3 separate regions of the Homo sapiens genome follow, and regions 1 and 2 are each linked to region 3. Evidence: promoter capture Hi-C in 16 types of primary human blood cells and fetal thymus (Javierre and others, 2016). All regions are on one chromosome and are shown on one strand. The core of a region is centred on a gene start or on the middle of the fragment in contact, and the rest is flanking DNA. Distances in the headings are between cores, read along the strand shown.

Region 1 (2,898 bases), core at 193-2,692, 330 kb after region 3:
CAAAAAAAAAAATATTCATTAATCCTTCCCCCAAGCATTTCACAGGAAAGCAGACTTTCTGGTATCATCTTGTTATACATCTTTAAGCTGATTAAAATATCATATCAAGGATAGGCATAGGCTCAAGTGGGTAAGCAGAACAGATTTGGAGAACTGTAAGGTCCGCTTTTTTTTTTTGAGACAGAGTCTCACTCTGTCACCCAGACAGGAGTGCAGTGGTGCAATTATCAGCTTGCTGCAACCTCCACCTCCCGGGTTCAAGCGATTCTCCTGCCTCAGCCTCCTGAGTAGCTGAGATTACAGGTGCATGCCACCATGCCCAGCTAATTTTTTGTATGTTTAGTAGACATGGGATTTTGCAATGTTGCCCAGGCTGGTCTCAAACTCCTGAGCTCAGGCAATCCTCCCGCCTCGGTCTCCGAAAGTGCTAGGATTATAGGCGCGAGCCACCACGCCCGGCCAGGTCTGTATTTTTCAGGTGACTCTCATCTACCTCCCTCTTAATAATTACTGAGCCTGCAGACAATCCATACTACCACTCCTCACCCCAAAACAGAGAAGTGAAAACTCCCAGCTTGCTCACCCCAGGTCGGCTGCCTCTGTTTCCAGAATGATGCTGTTGGTCTTGTTGTCGAGGACGACGTTGCCTATGTCGCTGCCGTAGAAGCTGGACCGGGGGGTGCTGACGCAGCTGGACAGGAGGGAGTTCATGGCCGAGGACTGGTTGGAGCCGGGGATGTTCATGGGAGAAGGGGTCAGAGATCTCTGCTTGACAACCTGGTTGATGTTTCTTACTGTCTCAAAGACACGCTTCTGGTGACTAGGGAGAATGCACGGCATCCGTGAGTGAGCAAATGCGGGCACAACCCTGGAGTTTAACCCTCCAAAAATGATCAACTGAGCCAAAAGGGCACCTGGCCTATGACGAGTCCCCCAGCAGCCTGCTATCCTGTGCCTGCCACCTGTTTCTTAGGGTATTGGCTGCCTCCTTCACAATGCGAAATTTGAGAGATTCAACACCCACTAAACCCAGGACTCGAACGCATGGTTGTATCCTAAAGGTGATGCCAGCAAGAGTGAAATTGTGTTTCACATCCCTAAAGCTTAACCCACAAATAAAAATACTTAAGTATGACTTTTGTCTCCTAGATTTCTTTTTTCATAATATTCACTAGAATAAACGCTGCAGCAGGGCAGTGTTTACTGCTCAGCGCAGCAGAAATCAATCAATACTTGTAGAATGGATATTTGTTGAACATTCATATAAAAAAAGGAAGACTTCAAGTTAGTCTTTCACTTCTATAATAAGATGATAAATACTAGATTTGTCTAATTTTGGAAAGTGTTATTTTAGGAGCAGAACCACTTTGATGCTCATTTGTTCCCTTTTAAAGAGAAAAGGGTAGGCATGTTTTTACAATGGCCACTTCCTTCTGGGCTGCAGAGGGTGTCACACATATACCAAACCTCACTTGGACACTTGCCACTCCCAGGATCTCATTTAAGTTCTGTCTATGGAGTCTGAGTACACAGAAAACACAATGAAACCTGGTCCACATGTTCCTTACAAACACCTTGGGGCAGGTTAAGTACAAGAGTTGAGGTAGGAAGACAGATGGTAGAAGCTCATATCCCTAGGTGTATTCAGATGGAGATGGAAGCCTTGCACAAAATCTTTGAAGACCCCTCTGAATCTCACACTACGTTGATTTTAAATTTTTTAAATGTTTTCCACTGAAAGGAAAGATAAAAACGTGTAGCTATATCAAGACAAAGCTTGTGTTAAGAGAGATGGGAAAGACATCTCTCCTTTTCTAGGACTTTCTGGAAGTTCACAATTTGTCTTTAAAACCTAAGAAGAAGAGGAGCACAGTGGCTCACAGGCCAGTGGTGGCTCACGCCTGTAATCCCAACACTTTGGGAAGGCCAAGGCAGGACGATCACTTGAAGCCAGGAGTTTGAGATCAGCCTGAGCAACATGGTGAAGCCCTATGTCTACAAAAGATTTTTTTAAATTAGCTGGAAATGGTGGCATGCGCCTGTAGTCCTAGCTACTCAAGAGGCTGAGGCAGCAGTATTACTTGAGCCTAGGAGTTCGAGGCTGCAGTGAGCTATGATCACACCACTGCACTCTGGCGTGCCCAATAAAGTGAGACACCCCATCTCTAAAAAATAAATAAATAAAAATTAACACTAACAAAAGATAATAAGAGGAGCTGAGGGATGCTGTCAGCTGTGTTCTATTATTTCCCTTAATCTGGACTGGGAAGGACAATAGTCAATCACTGTCGGTACCCAGAGCCTCAACATTGCTAGGTTTTGAACACTGCACTGGTCCAAGTTGGTCTCTGGGAATCTCAAAACTGTAAAAACTGTGGCCGTACGTGATGTCTGGAGACTCGGCCTCTTCCAACTGCAGCTCCTTGCGCATCGTTCCCTCAATCTCTGCTGCCAAGGAATCCTGGGAAAAGCCAGAAAGACAAATGTCAAGTGAGCGCCAATTCAAATGCTCTGTCTCTAAAAGAGGTATGCACCCAGGTGGGCCATGGAGAGTAAACCAAGGCATCAGAAGCTCACGGTCTTCCCACAACACAAACTTAACAGCACTCTCTGTTGTCAGAGACCCTGGCTGAGCAGTTTCCCAGGCAGGTTCTGAGTGTGGCAGTGCCACTGGGCACTGAGTGTAAAGCTGCTGACTCATATGCCATTAGGTGTCTAAAAGCAAACCCTATGCTCCGTTGGCCAAACCATGGAGCTGTAACCATGGCTACGAGATGGGATGCAGAACTTATGAGGGAGGGGTGATGTGTTCAGAATGATGGAGACAGGTGAATTTCCAAATACCTCTGAGCTTACAGTGAGATATGGCAACAGAGCCCATACAAGCCACACAAAGCT
Region 2 (2,700 bases), core at 133-2,632, 270 kb after region 3:
GATGGTCACAGTTGTAGCAAGAGCTGAGCAAGTCAGTTTTCTCAGCATCAAAGTCTTTCTCCAGGAATAAGGTGATTCAGCAGCTCACTAGCCGAGTGGCATGCAGGCAATTCTGACCTGAGGCTAGCTTTCCCCTAAGCTCCTTCCAATTCTTTGTGTGATTCAGAGGGAGGCCCATTCATCTCTTGTGACCCATAGGAATCATGCTTTGGATTGGGGCAGCTTTTTTCTGCCAACTTTATCCCCAGTGACACTAATGATGAACACCGGCTGTGGAGCAGTGTGCTGAACAGTACAAACACAGCTGGACATTAAAAGAATTCAGCAGGCCAGGAGCAGTGGCTCACACCTGTAATCCCAGCACTTTGGGGGGCTGAGGCAGGTGGATCACATGAGGTCAGGAGTTCGAGACCAGCCTGACCAACATGGTGAAACCCCATCTCTACTAAAAATACAAAATTAGCTGGGCATGGTGGCACATGCTTGTAATCCCAGCTACACGGGAGGCTGAAGCAGGAGAGTAGCTTGAACTCGGGAGGTGGAGGTTGCAGTGAGCCGAGATTGTGCCATTGCACTCTGGCCTGAGCAACAAGAGTGAAACTGTCTAAAAAAAAAAAAAAAAAAAAAAAGAACTTAGCAAACACTGCTGGAAGGGATGTGGTAGGTGTGTTGCCTTTTCCATGAAGCTCTCTTACCCAACTGGTGTTCCAGGGCCTGGATTTGAACCTTAACCCCTGGCTTGACCAGAGAGGGATAAGATGAAGAGTTTTGGCTCTGCAGAGTTCTTCTGTGGGTTCACATGAAGGGAAGACTGGAACTCTGACCCAGAGGCTTCAGAAGGAAAGAACAAATCAGTGATTTGTTGTATTTCTTCCTGTCTTTGGGAAATTGCCCCACCCACCACCTTGTGTTTTGCTTTCCTGCTAATTAAATTGAAAAAGATAGAAATACTTCTCAGATGGAGAGAGAAAGTCTGAAAGCTTTTGAGTTCCTGCTGATTCTCTGCCTGAAAATAATTTAGTATCTGTCCCCAGATACAGGCTGAATTTCAGCCAGACCAGTCTGAAATATCCTAGGCTTTTCATTTAACTGTGGACCTGGACTCCCCTCCTCCAATTTAGGAAAGACCCTGGTTTTTCTTCTATGTAGGCTGAGGATATCTGCAAAAAGGCCTGAAATGTGCCGAATTGAGTCTTGGTTCCAAAATTGCTCTAGGGAAAAAAAAGAAAAAAAAAAAAGCTCATTACCAAATTATTTCCTAGAACCAATACTAGACAATGGCTCTTATAGCATAAATCTTAGCTGGAAAGTTCTTTCTAGTCCCTCTTCTCAGCCCCCCTCTCCCTTTGCCTTCAGCCAATTGTGCCAAACAAACCCAGGAGGGAATAGCAATCACTTGGAAATTTAGATGCCAACACCTAGGATCAACTCTAGCTAAAAAACAAGCAAACTCTTCTATGTGACAAACATGAACTAGGACTAAATACTTACACATATAGATACTGCACAGTTTCTATATGTGCAGTATATAGAATATTTTACATATTTTGAATATTTTACATATTTTGAGATCATATCAGATTTTTGCTCCACTATAGTATATATTATTCTTAAAAGTTCTAAACAAGACAATGCATTCTTTGAGCAGTACTTAAGAGTTTATCATTAGGAAATATCTGCAGCACTTTCAATGGCCCAAGAAGAAACAATTCTATTGGAGGGCAGTGGGTAAAGATATCTAGAGGCATTTAGTGTGCGCCTCCCCCATGCCCAGCAAAGCTTCAATGCTACATCTATATTGTCTTTCTCAGTACAACAGCCCTGCACAGTGAATATTATTATACCCATTTTGCCAGTGTGGAAGCTGGGGCTCTAAAAGCCTGAGTAACCTACATGCAGTTGCATATCTACGCAACAGCAGGGCTGAGACTCTATCTAGTCCTGCTCCCCCCAGGAGGGCCTGGAAGCCATTCAGCTTCCTAGCTGTACTGCCTATTCCACATTTTAAAGTTTAAAAGAGCTAAACCCTTCAGTTTTAGCAAGAGCTAAGAAAGTCACTGTTTTCTCAGCACCAAAGTCTTTCTCCAGGAATAAGGTGATTCAGCAGCCCACTAGCTGAGTGACATGCAGACAGTCCCGAGGCTAGCTTTCCAATAAGCCCCTTCCAATTCTTTGTGTGATTCAGAGGGAGGCCCGTCCATCTCTTGTGGCCCATAGGAATCAGGCTTTGATCAATTCCATACATCAGATGTAAGCCCCTACTCTATGTCAGCACTGGGAAAGTGAGTGAGGACCCTGGTAAATACACATGACATGAGGACAGAACTGTACGTGGAACGGGGAAGTCAGGGTGTGTGATAAATGCAGCTTCCATGACTGAACATGGTGCCCCCACCGTTAACTGAGGCTGCTTGCTCGTATTGAAGCTGTCACCTTGCTTCCATTAGATGGAAATTTGGGTTGTGCCCAGGCCTTAGAGTGGGCACTCATCATCACAGCAGGCAGAAGGATGGGTCATGTTTCCATGTGACTGTGTACAGGTAACTGGGTCTATAGGTTTTCCTGAATTCAAGGGTAATATTTCACCTGAATGATGAACAATTAAATAGCAGGGGCTATTTTTCTTCTACGTAGGCTGAGGATATCTGCAAAAAGACCTGAAATGTGCTGAATTGACTGTTGGTTCCAAAACTGGGAAGG
Region 3 (2,871 bases), core at 139-2,638:
CTGATCCAGGCAGTGTGAACCCATTGCTCCCTGGCTAGGAGAGGTGGGGTGTGGATAGGGAGGGTCTCTGACTCTGTCTCTCCTGCCTTAGCAGTCAGTCCAAGGAAGTCTAGCCCAAGGCCTGAGGTCCCACAGCAAGCTGGGGGCAGAGGAGCTGGCCTTGCCCCTCCCACTCCTTCCTGGACCTGGTTCTCAGCCATGCCAAGATCCTGAGCAATGCCCACCCCTCTTCGGCTGCAAAACTATCCCACACACCGGAGGCTAACAGATGGAGGCTTTCTTTAAATCAAAGGCTTATGGGGAGGTGTAGAGTGGGAGCTGACAGCTTCTCCTTGAGGAGCTTCATCTCCAACTGCCCCCACCCCTTTTGCCTGCTGACAACTGTTTCCTTTCTGTCTCACCACACAGACCTGGCCCTGACCATGGCCAGCTCTGTTTGCCTCAGATTCAGGCCCTTTTGAACCATTGTAAGTTGGGGGAAATAAGGTCCCATCGGCAAAGGAGAGGATAAGGGTGCACAGGCCCGATGTGCTGCCCCTCAGCAGACTGCAGATGCCCCCCCCGTCCCCCCCAGCCTTTCCTTCTCAGACAGGAAGGGAAGCTCCGCCTACACACCTGGCAGGAGAGAATGCAGTCACACCAGGAATGTGAGTCTTAGTCTCATCAGGGAGAATCACAGGATTCCAGAATAGAATCCTAAATCCAGCAGTCTGTGACATTCTAGCCAGGAATCTTAGAACCACAGCACAGACTCTCCAAAGAGAAGCCAGGCCAAGAAGAATCCCAGGACTGGAAGGCCTTGTGGGACGTCCCAGGTTTGTCTTGTGTCAATAGCACTGATACTCAATCTCCTACTCCCATCTGTGAGCATGCAGACCCTACTTGCCTTCCCACAGCCTCCCTTTTCATATTTTTCATGTTTCTTTAGCTCTGTCTTCAAGCCTTGTTGCTCCCGCAAAAAAACCTGCCTCTTCCTCCAGTCCTCCCAAGCAGGGGGAACAGTCCTGACACCTTTCCAAGCCCTGGTCCATGGACATTGTGCCCCCTTCTCCCTGCCCATGGTGACCTGCTCCAAAACCCTCAAGGAGAAGGGAGTGTATGTCATTTCCTCCCTGTAAAGTAAAGATAATTTTGCAGGGGACTGTGTGGATGAAATGACATGATGCATGGAAATCCCTTAGCGTGTGCCTGGCATGTAAACTGCAGGTGTCATCATTATTACTGAGGAATACTGAGTCCCGAACATGGCTGTCTCATTGGTGGACTGGGGTCTCCCCCAGGGCATTCATCTACTATGTGTTTATTGCACCCTTTTTCCATGTGAGGCACATGCCAGGGACTGGGCACATGGTATGAACAAGACACAGGTCATCGGTGTCCTCTTGAGCTCCCTGGCTTGGCAGCAGATGCATACCTGGGAAGGATGCTAGGTGAGTGTGGGCAGGAGAAGCATGCAGGGCTCTGAGTGCAGCCTGGTGAGGGTGGGGCTGGAGCAGGGGATGGTGGTGGGCTGAGCCAGGCCATGGTGGAGGTGGGAAAGAACAATGTGGCTCTTTGGTGACTCTGGATGTTTGGGGTGGGAGGACTTCAAGGAGATGTGGGATGATTTGAGGACTGGGGATGGAGGTACTGGGGGCTGAGGCACTAGGCCCACACTCACGAGTATGGACTGCTGTCACTCTTCCTGATATCTGGGGGCCGCAGTTTCTGAAGCAGGATTCGGATGATGCAAATAAACAGGATGAAGTTTACCTAGTGGGTGGGGACCCGAGTTCGGGCAGTCAGAGCGGGAAGGCTGAGGTGTTCAGGCCCCTTGACTGCTGGCCTGTCTTCTTTCCCAGGGTCCTGCTGCCCCTCTCTCTATCTTACCTCTCCTCTGGCATTTCCCCTTTGGGCAGGTCATCCGGGAACTCTACCTCCTTCAAATCCCTAAGGACTGTGCTCCCAATCCGCTTACGCTCAAGGAAGAACTGGTAGGACAGGGGTGGGGATGATCCTGCATTGGGCATTAGGAAGCTACGTTTCAGTTCTGACCTAGATACTAATTTCCCATGTGACCTTGGGCTAAGTTGCCTGCCCTTTGGGCCTGTTTCCCCATCTCTAGGTGGTGGGAGGGTATCTTACCAAGATGGAGGTGAGGATGGGGCCCTTTATGATCCACCACAGTGAGGAGTTGATGGTGTCCCAGCACCTGAGCAGACCGTGGGGAGGAATGAGAGGGATTGTCCTCAGCCAGAGAGAGACTCAGCAGCACCTCCCCCAGTTGTCCCCAGCTCTGCTCCTGAGCACTTTAGCAACCCCGGGCCCAGAGTCTGTTGCTCCCCAGGTCCTCCTCCAGCCTCCCCTCTGGCCCGAGAGCTGTGGTTTTTGTCCACTCACCAAGGCCAGATGGCATTATCATCCCACCCAGGGGGCCTGCCCAAGTGATGGCGGCCGGGGGAGTGTGTGGGGCAGCAGCTCACCCATAATCCTCAAAATGGATCCTGGCGATGGTCCACACCATGGTGAATGTGCTGGGTACCCCTGTCAGGCCCAGGGAGAGTGAAAGAGCAGAGAGGGCACAGGAAGCAGGGGTAGAGGGCATGAGGGAGAGATTTTGGAGAAAAGCAGGGAGAGGGAGGGAGAGAGAAAAGGGTGGGTTGTCAGTCTGCTGTCTTTGGTTGCATAGGTTGTTCACCACGGAGGGATGCTCCACTGAGGGGGTGAAGCTGTATGCCTGAAGGGCTGTGTCTACCTAGACGGACATTCTCTTTCTAATTGTGACAGAGGCCCTTTATAGATTAGCAGTGGCCCTGTGTATTTCGGGAACTAAAGGGAAATGGAAAGATGTTCACAAAATCTGTCCCACAGGTCAGCCCTAGGTGCAGCTGC

Evidence for each region. The method cuts DNA at HindIII sites, captures the fragments that hold promoters and counts their contacts. A CHiCAGO score of 5 or more calls a contact.
Region 1: a contact is called between a fragment that was not itself captured here and the fragment with the promoter of VIPR1-AS1 in region 3, in 1 of 17 cell types (M2 macrophages). The highest score is 5.1, in M2 macrophages.
Region 2: a fragment that was not itself captured here is called in contact with the fragment with the promoter of VIPR1-AS1 in region 3 in 2 of 17 cell types (M2 macrophages and endothelial precursors); the score reaches 8.3 in M2 macrophages.

Annotation. Positions count from the first base shown.
Region 1 is chr3:42,198,740-42,201,637 of GRCh38, reverse strand. TRAK1 (trafficking kinesin protein 1) reads right to left here. Exons shown (of 16, transcript NM_001042646.3): 11 at 2,385-2,461; 12 at 584-820. Among named protein-coding and RNA genes, the nearest start is that of CCK, 66 kb to the left of the region's middle. The HindIII fragment of the contact is 673 bases long and covers 1,106-1,778 here.
Region 2 is chr3:42,260,147-42,262,846 of GRCh38, reverse strand. The region is part of intron 4 of CCK (cholecystokinin); the gene reads left to right. Among named protein-coding and RNA genes, the nearest start is that of CCK, 4.7 kb to the left of the region's middle. The HindIII fragment of the contact is 799 bases long and covers 983-1,781 here.
Region 3 is chr3:42,531,123-42,533,993 of GRCh38, reverse strand. VIPR1-AS1 (VIPR1 antisense RNA 1) reads left to right here and starts at 1,388. Exons shown (of 3, transcript NR_046654.1): 1 at 1,388-1,430; 2 at 1,899-1,973. It overlaps VIPR1 (vasoactive intestinal peptide receptor 1), which reads right to left. Exons shown (of 13, transcript NM_004624.4): 8 at 2,463-2,523; 9 at 2,125-2,191; 10 at 1,661-1,752. RefSeq lists an enhancer at 114-615. The HindIII fragment of the contact is 10,773 bases long and covers 1-2,871 here.